2 separate regions of the Homo sapiens genome follow, and region 2 is linked to region 1. The links are contacts of gene promoters, found by promoter capture Hi-C in blood cells and fetal thymus (Javierre and others, 2016). All regions are on one chromosome and are shown on one strand. Each heading gives the region's core, a stretch centred on a gene start or on the middle of the fragment in contact. The rest is flanking DNA. Distances are from core to core; before and after follow the strand shown. Region 1 holds the start of GINS1 (GINS complex subunit 1). Region 2 overlaps LOC124904882 (a long non-coding RNA gene).

Region 1 (5,740 bases), core at 274-2,773:
ATAATTTTTTCAAAGGCGGTTTCAAAAAGGCAATGTTTGCTGGGTGCGGTGGCTCACGCTGTAATTCCAGCACTTTGGGAGGCCCAGGCGGACGGATCCCTTGAGCTCAAGAGTTGTCGACCAGACTGGCCAACATGGTGAAACCCTGTCTCTACTTAAAATACAAAATAGCCAGGTGTGGTGGCCTGAGCCTGTAGTCCCAGCTACTCAGAGGGCTGAGGGGGGAAAATTACCTCAGCCCGGGAAGTGGAGGCTGCAGTGAGCTGAGATGGCGCCACTGCACTCCACCTGGGTAACGGGAGTTAAGACCCTGTCTCCAAAAAAAAAAGGCAATGTCATTATTCAACATAAGCCTGAGTAGGCCATTCCCATGCCCATTCCTTAGATGACATATCTACTGTATATTTGCAAAAGATCAACATAGTTTCTAGGGTTAGCTAGAATTAATCCAAGATTGCGCCGGTTGCGGTGGCTCATGCCTGTAATCCCAGCACTTTGGGAGGCCGAGGTGGGCGGATCACGAGGTCAGGAAATTGAGACCGTCCTGGCTAACACGGTGAAACCCCGTCTATACTTAAAAAATTCAAAAAATTAGCTGGGCGTGGTGGCGGGCGCCTGTAGTCCCAGCTACTCGGGAGGCTGAGGCAGGAGAATGGCGTGAACCCGGGAGGCGGAGCTTACAGTGAGCCGAGTTCGCGCCACTGCACTCCAGCCTGGGCGACAGAGCGAGACTCCATCTCAAAAAAAAAAAAATCCAAGATTGCTTGTTAGAAATTAACATTGCTTTTTGAAAAATTGCCTAATAAAACAATTCTTTAGCAGTGATTCCCATCTTCCATATGCTTAAGAAATATTCCATAACCATCTAGCCAAGAAAATTCCTAGTGAATTCGTATTAATCTAGGGCAGATATTACAAATATTTTTAAAAGACTATTTTAAAATCAAAGGGTGGTACTGTGGTGTTGGAAATGGAAAGCCTAAATAACAGTCTAATCACTCTGGAGCTGTGTGACCTTGGGCAAGTTACCTAACTTCTGTTTCCTTATTAATCCCGGGTCTTAAAACACTTCAGAGATAATTGTGGGAATGAAATACACACTGCAGTCCCTACCAGCACTAGGTACCCAATAAAAGAGAGTTTCATTTTAATATCAAACAGAAAACCCGCACTGCAAAACTGAAACCCTTGCGTCCTACCAATGCACACCAAGTTTTTGGGCCTTTCCTCTTAACCTCAAAGTGCTCTTTTCTTGAACCTAAACGAGAATGAATGAATCAAAAGGAAAATGACAAGGAAGCTGCGGGGCGTGCATTTATTTCCAGCTCTGCTGCCCGTAGAGTCCCCCGGCCCACTGCCTGAGAACTGGAAAAGCCGTCTCTGCTCAGCCGAGGGGTTCTGCCATCTCCGGGGCGGGGACCTCACCTTGGAAAGACCCCTCCCACTCCGCCCCTCTTGGAATGCGGCTGAGCGGTGGATGTCCCTTTTCGGGCGCCGTAGGCGCGTTCCTATTGGCTAGCTTTGTTCGGCGCCAAAGCGCGGAGCGGAGGCCGAGGCGAGAGCCTGGCGCTGTAGGACTAGAACGAAAGGAGTGAGGCGCCGAGAGCCCAGATACCATTTTGGCGTGAGAGCTGGTGGTTGGCAAGGCCGCGGGAGTGGGAAGCGTCCGCCATGTTCTGCGAAAAAGCCATGGAACTGATCCGCGAGCTGCATCGCGCGCCCGAAGGGCAACTGCCTGCCTTCAACGTGAGGGGCGGGTAGACTTGGACGGGGCATGCCGGCGTTGGGCCCTGGGCTCTGGGGCGGGGCGGCTCCCCGTCAGGGTTCACTTTCGCACCTTGTTCCCTCCGAGCTCCGGAAAACTTGGGAAGCAGCAAAACAAAATTCAGGAGGAAAGAGAAAGCATTCATGCTTACGCTACCCAGCGATTTGGTGAATTTCCTCATCTGAGCAAATTTTGCATTTTAGCAGTTTTCCTTGGACAGATTTGTTCCGGTCCCTTAAAATATTTACAGGTTGCCTGATAATTTAGCATTTCTTGCTCACTCAGGCATCTAATCGTGGTCAGTAAAAGCTAGGCCTCTGGAACCTGGCTGAGATTCTGGTTCTGTAGTGTGACTTTGGGGCAGTTACTCAAGCTTTCTGTGCTCTCAGTTTTCTCATACGCAAAAATGGGGATGGTGACAATAATAGTACCCAACGCATGATGTAGTGGACGCAAAATGAGTGGCATGTGTAAGGGTCTCTGCATATGCCTCACATACAGTAAGGGCTGAGTCAGTGTTAGCTATTAATATTACTTTTCTCCTGCTGCTGCTGTTACTATTAATATTATGATTATTTGTATTTTTCTATCACTGCTACCCCAGGGAGAGTGCTAAGCACTTCATGTACATTATCTTTTGTCTTTCTAATAACCCTTTGAGGGCCCGGTACCATGGCTCCTGCCTGTAATCCCAGCACTTTGGGAGGCTGAGGCGGGAGGATCGCTTGATCCTGCCACTGCATTCCAGCCTGAGTGACAGGGAGACCCTGTCCCAAACAAAACAAAAATAACTTTTTGATGTTTAAACTATTGTTTTCTACTTTTTTCAGCTATATATGCATAGGATTGGGGAGATTTAAGTATATTGCCTAAGGTGACACAGCAAGAAAGCTAGGATTTGAACCCTGGCACTCTGGCTCCAGAGCCTGCACTCTAAATTGTATATTTCACTTACGTCATAGAGCAGGCATTATGTGGATGTCAGGACACATTCTGCTGGAAGATGGGCACAAAAACAGATAATAGAATTCACCACGCTAAGTGATACTAAGGAGGTATAGCAAGGAGCACGAAGGAGAAACACCAGTATGAGCTGGGGTAGAAGAGGTGATATATGAGCCTTTCCATCCTCAAGGATGAGGTTACTGATCTGAGAAGGAAGCGAGGCATCCCAGCCAAAGGATGCTGCAGCACAAAGTCACGTGGTCACACTGGAGAGGGTGACCAATAGGGCCTGTGGGGAGTCTAGGAAGGTGGCTCACAGCCTACATGAATTTGTTGTTCACTTATAAGGCATGCTGGGAGCTGGTAGAGGATTTTAGACAAGGAAGTGATAGGGTAATTTTTGTGTTTTGAAGGTAACTGCGGCAGCAATATGGGGAATGGATTGAAGAGAGGAAAGAATGGGACAGGGAGATGGCTACTGGGTGGCTGATAGAGCAGGTGAGAGGTGTGTGGTCTGAACTGTGTCAGGTCAGTGGCACTGAGATCAGTGTTTGGGTTTTAGAGACATGAAGCAAACATGACTTGTAGCTATTAGAGCAGGGGCAGAGATGGGGTCCATAATGAATAAGAGGGAGGAATTGGGATCTTGGAGGATCCTTAGGAAACTGGGTAAACAACATCAGAGTTCAGGAGATAGAGTGTGTTGGGAAAGGTAATGAGTTTTGTTTTGAACACTAAAGAGCACCTAGCCAGACAATTAGATTGTCTTACAAATGAAGAAACTGAGCTGACACAAATTATGGGTCAAGTTAAGGAACTCGTCTGAATTTACAGCATATTGGAGGTAGAGCTTCAACTTGAACACAGGTTTTCCAGTTTCTAGTCAATTGTTTTTTCAACTTCAGAGCAGTTACCTCATTTAAAAAGTTAGGCAGCAGTCTGCAGCTCAGTAGAGATGCTTGAATGCAGAAGTGTGTAAATGCTAAAATGTGGCCTGAGAACTAGGAACTTTAGAGGTCATTGTACATATCAGGACACAGGCCTAGAGAACAGAGAGACTGTGCAAACAGGTGCGGCCAAGCTGGATTTTGGACCTGACTCTGACACTTAGTTTAGCTCTCTGTTTTACTCAAATTTTAAGTTAAGTGTTGGGTTATCACTTTGTGGGGCTAGGGGCTGGTCTTAGAAGTTGTAGAATCAGGCCAGGAGTGGTGGCTCACGCCTGTAATCCCCCCACTTTGGGAGGCTGAGGCGGGCGGATTACAGGGTCCTGAGATTGAGACCATCCTGGCTAACATGGTGAAACCCCGTATCTACTAAAAATACAAAAAATTAGCCAGGCGTGGTGGGATGTGCCTGTAGTCCCAGCTACTCGGAAGGCTGAGGCAGGAGAATGGCTTGAATCTGGGAGGCGGAGGTTGCAGTGAGCCAAGATCGGGTCACTGCACTACAGCCTGGGCGACAGAGAGAGACTCCGCCTCAAAAAAAAAAAAAAGTTGTAGAATCACTGTCTTGTAGGTCTTAATTTGGTGGAGCACCTTTTGTCTCACTAGTGCCTTCCACTGACAAACCCACCTGATACTCAAGGTGATCCAGCAGCCTGGAACACTTAGTCAGCCTGCAGAGGCTGGCCTCCGACTCAGCGGCACAGAGGAAGGCTGACAGTGGATCTGAGAGGCCCAAGGACCACACAGGCTTTTCTCTTTTTTTTATTGTTTTGAGATGGGAGTTTCGCTCCTGTGGCCCAGGCTGGAGTGCAATGGTGTGATCTCGGCTCACTGCAACCTCCGCCTTCTGGGTTAAGCAATTCTCCTGCCTCAGCTTCCCTAGTAGCTGGGATTACAGGCGCCTGCCACCATGCCCAGATAATTTTATGTATTTTTAGTAGAGATGGGGTTTCACTATTTTGGCCGGGCTGGTCTCGAACTCCTGACCTCAGGCGATCCACCCACCTCAGCCTCCCAAAGTGCTGGGATTATAGGCGTGAGCCACCGTGCCCGGCCCAACACACAGGCTTTTCTTCTGGAATCACTCATGGTTAAGCGCTGTGTTCAGCAAACAGAAAAGTGATTACACCCTTTCTATATGCAGAATTGATACTTTTTTTAAAAAGTACATTTTTAAGAAAGTTAGGCCAAGCATGGTGGCTCATGCCTGTAATCCCAGCCACCACTTTGGGAGGTCAAGGTGGAAGGAACACTTGAGCCCAGGAGTTCGAGACTAGCCTGGGCAACATAGTGAGACCCCATTTTTACAAAAAATAGAATTAGCTGGGTGTGGTGGCACACACCTGTAGTCCCAGCAACTTAGGAGGCTGAAGTGAGAGGATTGCATGGCTCCAGGAAGTTGAAACTGCAGTGAACTGTGGTCACGCTATTACACTCCAGCCTGGGTGACAGACTGAATCCCTGTCTCAAAAAGGAAAAGGTAAGAAAATTACCTTGGGCTCAGGTAGAAGTCATGCTTGCATTTTCCATCAGGAATTACATCTTTTGAGCAGAGTTGAGTAGTTGATTTTGGAATTGTGCCATTTGTATATGCCACAGCATTTTTGCCAACACATATATTTTGGCCCTAAAAATAGACAGTGAAAAAGAGATGGGATTGCTTCTCTTTCGATTGTTGGCAGACCTATTGGGTAACATTTAATCATTTTGGGCTGGACACGGTGGCTCCTGCCTGTACTCGCAGCACTTTGGGAGACCATGGCAGGCGGATCACTTGAGGTCAGGAGTTTGAGAGCAGTGTGGCCAACATGGCGAAACCCTGTCTCTACCAAAAAAAAAAAGATTACAAAAATTAGCCAGACTTGGTGGCTTACACCTGTAATCCTAGCACTTTGGGAGGCTGAGGTGGGTGGATTGCCTGAGGTCAGGAGTTCGAGACCAACCTGGTGAACATGGTGAAACCCTGTCTCTACTAAAAATACAAAAATTAGCTGGACGTGATGGGCACCTGTAATCCCAGCTACTTGAGAGGCTAAGGCAGGAGAATCATTGCTTGGACCCGGGAGACGGAGGTTGCAGTGAG
Region 2 (6,457 bases), core at 2,843-5,342, 340 kb before region 1:
GAAGGACAGAAGGAAACGTATAAAACTGGTCTCCACCGAGTTCTTAAATATTCTGACACCCAAGAAGTAAATTCATAACAAACGGGTAAACACAGGGAAGAGAGATTTTGGAAAACTGGTTTATTGAGTTCTCTGTGATGGGAAAGTTTCTTTCCCTTGAGCTGTAGGGCTTGCAGAGGGGAGGAGCCTGCCATTGGAGGAGCCTCTGCGTGGGCTAGCCACCAGCCCCTGCTGGGGAATGCTGCTGTCTGCCAGAGAAGACAGGAGTGTACCTAGAGCTGGAGAATCAGTGACATCTACTAGCATAACACATGCCCTGCACAGTGCTAGCGCTTGACCTGCATTTTCTCCTTTATTTATTTATGATACTTTTTTAGAGATAGGGCCTGTAGCCCAGGCTGGAGTGCAATGGTTCCCATCACAGCTCACTACAGCCTGGAACTCCTGAGCTCAAGCGATCCTCCTGACTCGGCCTCCTGAGTATCTGGAACTACAAGCGTGTGCCACGGCACCCGACTAGTCTACTTAATTTGAAACTTATCTAGTGCTGTCCATTCCCACCAACTGTCAAACTCCAGGTGGAAAAAATGAGGAAACTGAGCCCAAATAAATAAAAGGACTTACTAAAGAGCATGCAGCTGGCTAAGGGAAGAGCAAGACTAACACCCAGTGCCCCCAGTGGGGAGCTCGTTGGCCTAAGTTCATTTGAATAGAATATTAAAGACACCCAGTACAGGGCACTGAGAGGCAGAGGTCAGTGAGTAGTAAAATTGTAAACTGAGAAAGCTCCTAACTGTGGCAGGGGGTCCCAAAGACGGCCACCAACTCTTCCTTCCCACGCCTGCACCGCCTGCACATGATGGTGTGCTGCTCTGTCCAGAGGAGGACCCTGGCTGGCTGGATTGCTTTGGCCAGTACAGCCTGGTGGGAGGGATGCTGTGACAGTTCCATGTGGAGGTCCTGAGAGACCCCGTAGCCCCAGCTTATCCTCCCATGGAACCCAGCTGCGAGCTGTGAGGAAGCGGGGCTGGCCTTCCAGAGGAAGGGACCCAGGGCGAGGATGAAGCTGTCCCATCCACAGCCAGGACCAACTCCCAGACAAGAATGACGCCAATGTGGAGGCTCCTGTCCCAGCCAAGGCAGCCTCATGAGTCACCCCAGATAACACCTGGGATGCAAAGGAACCTCCCAGTCCACTTACAGAATTGTAGAAGGAATAAATTTAAGCCACTAAATTTTGGGATGGTTTGTAACTCAGCAGTGGTAACTGATACAACAACTGAGGCTGAAAAATGCATGGTTCTTTCACTCACTGACTATTGCCTCTCAGTGCCCTGTACTGGGTGCCTTTCTTCTCTCTGCCTTCCAAGTGTTGAAGTGCCCAGGAGCTCAGCCCTCAAATCCCCCTTTCTCCCCTGCCCCCTAGGAAACAGCAGCCAGCTCTCTAGCCTCTCACTTTCATATTGACACCTCCCGCCTGGACCTTTCCTCCACATCTCAGTCCTGTATTCAAATGTCTCATTCACATCTGAAACATACCAAGTCCTGGGATTCTTCCCCACAACACGGATCTTCCATGTCAGTGAATGGAAATGGCATTTTCCTGTTGTTTGGGCTCATACCCTTGTCATCCTAGATTCCTCCCCCTCACACTCCACATGCAGCCTGTCAGCAAATCCTGTGACTCACCTTCAGAACACCTGCAGCACTAACCTCTTCCCCCATCACCATCCCCTCCTGCTACCATCCTAACCATACCTATCTCTTTTAGGATTATTCAGTAGGCTTCAAATTGCTTTCACCCTTGCCCCTGACAGCCTAACCAGCAGCCAGTGCAATTCCTTTAAAACAAGAGTCAGAGGAACTTGCTCTGGAGCTTGGAACAATCCAAAGGCTCCCCAGTCTCCTCAAAACAAAGACCACATCATTCCCTGGCCCACAGGCCATAGCCTCACTACTTAACGTGTGGTCCATGGGCCAGCAGCATCACTTGGATACTTTGTAGAAATGCAGAATGCCAGGCTCCATCTCAGACCTGCTGCCTCAGAATCTGCATCTTAAGCCCCAGGGGAGCTGCATGCACATTCACGTTAGAGAAGCGTTGCCCTCCCTGATCCAGTGTACCCTCTTCCTCTGCTCTCACTCATTGGGGCTCCAGCACATCAGCCTCCTCCTGTCCTTCCCATCACCCAGCAGGCTCCCACCTCAGGACTGCCACACGATGTCCCTTCTGCCTGGAATGCTCCACCCAGTTGTCCACAGAGACTCCCCCTCACCTCCTTCAGGTGTCTTCAAACATCCCTTCATCCAAGAGCCCTTTCTTCCCTGTCACCTACATAAAGTTATACCTCCGCCCTCATTCCCTAGTCTCAACCCCTGACTTGACTTTTCTCCATGGCTGTTACTTATTAGCTCTGTGTTTATCTTCCTAGTCCTCCTACCAGGAGGGAGCCCTGTGAGAGAAGAGACCAGCTATGCTGCTTGTGACTGGGCCTGGCACCAACAGCCACCCCATGGAGAGTGCACGGCAATGGCTCCTTCTTCCTACTACCTTCGTTTCTAAGGTCTTCTACAGTTGCAATGAGAAAAGTAGGTAGAACTAACTCTGTTTTAAAATAAATGCTACCTCGTTCCTTCTGGTTGGATAAGAAGAAGTGATCATTTCAGAACCAAACATGTCAGAACCAACCAGGTGGTGCAGAACTGCACTTCTTGCTGCCCGAGTTACCTAGAGGTGGCCTTGAGACCTTCCTTCTGAGTGTCACAGCCCAGGCCAAGGTCGTCCCCACTGCCTCCCTCCTGGCAGCCAGTCATCAACTCTTGCAGAACAAGCACAAGATTGAACAAGCACAAGGAGCACCCACTCTTGGCCCTGCATCCCGAAGGACCCTCAGAGGTTTGGACAGGGCAGCAGGCTATCTGGGCAGTGCTGGTCACATCTTCTCCCTAAGAAGCCGCTGGCCTCAACTTCAGGAGAGCTCACTTGGAACGCTGGATGCTGTCAGGCAGGGGCTGCAGACACACGAAGTGCTTAGAGGGCAGGGTTCTTGGGAATCCGGGATTCGCTTCTGTCTCGGTACTAATGTTTAGGCCAGAAATGCCAACACAGCTGTGACTACTGACCCTACAACCTGCAGCAGTGAATGCTCTTGCCCTTGCTGTACATGTGTGAAAATAAGCAGGAGGACAGAAGCTCACCCGAGGCCACCAGCTAGTAGGTAGCAGAGCCATAGCGTCCAGAGCATCTTAATTTAACAGCTTTAGGGACAGAGCCCACCAACACGGCCTTCGCCATTTGCCTTCATAGCTCCTGCCATGCCCATTACTCCAGAGTCGCAGTGCTCAGATGCTCAAGAAACAGTCCTGGCTGATAACGGATCCCCAACCACTCCCTGTGCACTCAGTGGTCTCCAAAGAGCTGGTAAAACCCTCCCTTCCTCTTCTCTCCTCCATCTCTCCCTCTTCCTGTTCTCTTCATTTGTCTCTGTGACCCCACACACACACACCTCTTTCCAATGACACTCAGAAGAAACCTGTGAGCTTCTCCCATGTGCACCACCAAGAGCTGAGGGCTCTCAGTTGGACAAGGACGGTCCAGTTTTGGTCCCTGCAAGCAAGCAGGTCACAGTTCAAATTGGGGAGAGACAGACACTGTTCAAATAGCTGAAATGCACAGTAAAACCAAAACACAGAATTTAGAAGAGCATGGCAGAGCTCAGATCAAGTACAGGACCCAGATGCTGGGAGTCTGGAATTGGCTTCGTCACCAGTTCACTGAGTTCTTTCTCTACTCTGCATCAGCTACAAAGAAAGATCACCAGATTGGGGAAAAGGAAAAGCAGGTTTTATTCCCGGCCAGGCATGGAGAAGGAGAGAGCACTTGCTCTAAAGACAGCTTCTTCCAGAGCGGTGGGGAGCTGGGGAATGTAACAGGGTTAGATGTGGGGCAGGAGCTATGTAAGCTTATGTGGGGAGGAACTTCAGACACGCAGGTGCAGATCATGAACAGGCTCTTCATACGACACGTGTGCAGAAAGTGGCAACGATTCTCTTCTATGATTCTCTTCTATGAGTGGGGACTTTAGCATTATAATGATATGCTAATGATCTAAAGGTGACAGGGGCCACTGGTTCTGGTTTGCTCGGTTTTGGGCAAGCCTTACTTCCTCTGGTAATTGGCGAAGCGTCCTGAAGTTACCAGGCCACCCAAAGTTCTTTTAAGCAAGCTTACCTATAGATAAAGAGATGAGAAAAAAAATTGAGTAAGAAAAAATGAGGAGCTTTCTCAGCTATATCTCTAGGGCTGCCATGGTGGCAGCTTCACAAGGTGACAGGGCTCCCTTCCCTTCTGGCTCCTATTTCTCGATGTCCCCATGAACTCCGGGTGAGGATGAGGTATGTGGAGTCTGCGCATACATCTGCTTCAGCAGGGGGCTTGAGGATCCCATATGGCTGCAACACACCATAGCCTCATGCACTGTGGCACTGTGCACAAAGCCCTGCAGAAGTGCAGTGCGCCCCTGACCCTGCGGGGTCAACCCAACAACACACAGCGAAGCACAGGACGAGAGAGGGTGGCCACAAGCGCAAGAAGAGCTGGGAAGTGGGAGTGCAATCCAGCAACTGCCTGGCGTCCTTCCTGGGGCTGCGGGATACCCGGCCAGGCAGCTATGCTCTCTGATGCTCTGAGGGCGGTGCAGGAGGCAGAACAGTTGGGCTCTGTGGTGGGGCAGCTCCTGGTCAGCATGAGCGACATGGTAACTCAATTCCAGCAGCACCAAATCCTGGTAACTCTTAATCACTCACCCCAGCCATCCATGAGCATGCACGGCTGGGGACATCATCCATCAACCACCCATAGAACAGACTTCCCCACAAGACCCCTTGCAGCCCTCAGTGTTCAAGGAAGACACCATGAAAATCATTACACCTGGGAGAACAGTCCCTAACTGCCAGGCCTGCAGGGCCAAGGGGGGCACAGCAATTGCCCCCACATGCCAATGCCCTTCCCCATTCCCAAGCTGCCTCTCCTGGGGTTCCCCTACTGTGGTAGCTGCACTGCCTTCTCTCGCTCAAGGCCAGGCGTCACTTTTAGTGCTATTTGAGAGCTGTAAGTCTCTGAGATCACAGGGACATCTTGGGGTCACTCCAAGGGCAAAGCTCTGAGAACTTTGAGCTGTGGCCACTGTCCTGCCTCCTGTGTGGATCAAAAATGGCTTCCTCCTTCATGGAGCTCCTGAGTGTACAGATAGCACTAGACAGGGAGCCAAGGGAGAGGCCTAGAACCCCTCCTGGCTTCTGCCCTCTGTTCTGCCTCCAACCTGCCATGTGGCAAGGCCCCTGACATCTCTAGGCCTCAGTTTTCTCATCTGCAAAATGAACCAATGAGATCCAAATTCTGAATCCTTGAGCTCTAAAATTCCAAGAGGTGTATGAGTCCCATTAAGAACATGCCAGACTTAATAGCCAGAGTTTCTACTCCTTTCCCAAAATCACAGCCTCTGCCAGTGTGGGGCCCTCCACAGATTTCCCTAAGGACCACCGGACTCTGGCTCTGGAGAACTCCTGCCCTCCTTCCTTCCGTTCAATGTCTTCTTTGTCTCACAACTGCCCCATCCCCATCAGCCGTCACTCTGGGCCAGGGACAACCGCTGTTTCTCACACTACTTTAGGGCTGGAGCAGAGACATAGCCACCCAAGCCCATGTCTGAGGGATATAGACAGGAACACCCTTTGTGGTTTTCTTTTCATGTTAGTTCAACTAGAATTAACTTTATCTTGGACTTAAGTGCAAGCAGGCATTGACATTTTGGTAGATTTCCAGTCCAGTAGCTTCTGAGAATGGCAGCCAGCTCTGGCTGGGAAGGTTTAGATTTTGACTTGCATAAAACTAAAAATTGAGAGGTGAAGCTAGGAAATGGATCCTCAGCTAGAACTCGGCGTTTGCTTTAGTTTGAATTTGAGTGACAACTAGAATGTGGACCTTAGAGGAGGAGGCTTATAGTCCAGAGGACAAAAGGGATAGTCCCAAGTTCAACACTGTGCTCAGAGAAACAGACTCCCACACCCAGGCAGAGGCACCGGCAGCAGCAGGGTTTCCACTGTGCCTGAAAGACCAGGGGCCACCTGCCCTCATGGCTTTGTCCTGTAGTTTCATCGTCCAGCAGAAGCCTGAACCAGTCCCCACACACATGGAGGGCCAGGGGTCCTGATGCCTGCTGGTAGCCCACCCTGTCCCCTGAGTGGTCTTGGAGCCAGGTGCACTGCTTGAGTCATCACGCAGATATTGCTCGGTTGCTTGTTTTGCAGCAATCACCTGGTTTCTTGATCCCTCCATGATAAGAGGCTACAAGGGGGAGAGGGAAACCAGGGAACAGCCTTTGGCTAGATCTGAGCTGTCGGCCCCTTTGCTCTGTCCTGAGAAGGCAAAGGTCACTAAAACTGCCATCGCATCTCT

Evidence for each region. The method cuts DNA at HindIII sites, captures the fragments that hold promoters and counts their contacts. A CHiCAGO score of 5 or more calls a contact.
Region 2: a fragment that was not itself captured here is called in contact with the fragment with the promoter of GINS1 in region 1 in 4 of 17 cell types (total B cells, erythroblasts, M1 macrophages and 1 more); the score reaches 8.0 in total B cells.

The regions. Positions count from the first base shown.
Region 1 is chr20:25,406,150-25,411,889 of GRCh38, forward strand. It overlaps GINS1 (GINS complex subunit 1), which reads left to right and starts at 1,524. Exons shown (of 7, transcript NM_021067.5): 1 at 1,524-1,746. The coding sequence starts at 1,672. LOC105372581 (a long non-coding RNA gene) reads right to left here and starts at 2,146. Exons shown (of 3, transcript XR_937403.3): 1 at 1,922-2,146. RefSeq lists enhancers at 1,566-1,815, 1,913-2,670. The HindIII fragment of the contact is 9,972 bases long and covers 1-2,136 here.
Region 2 is chr20:25,059,140-25,065,596 of GRCh38, forward strand. LOC124904882 (a long non-coding RNA gene) reads right to left here. Exons shown (of 2, transcript XR_007067555.1): 2 at 3,823-4,231. Among named protein-coding and RNA genes, the nearest start is that of ACSS1, 4.2 kb to the left of the region's middle. The HindIII fragment of the contact is 264 bases long and covers 3,961-4,224 here.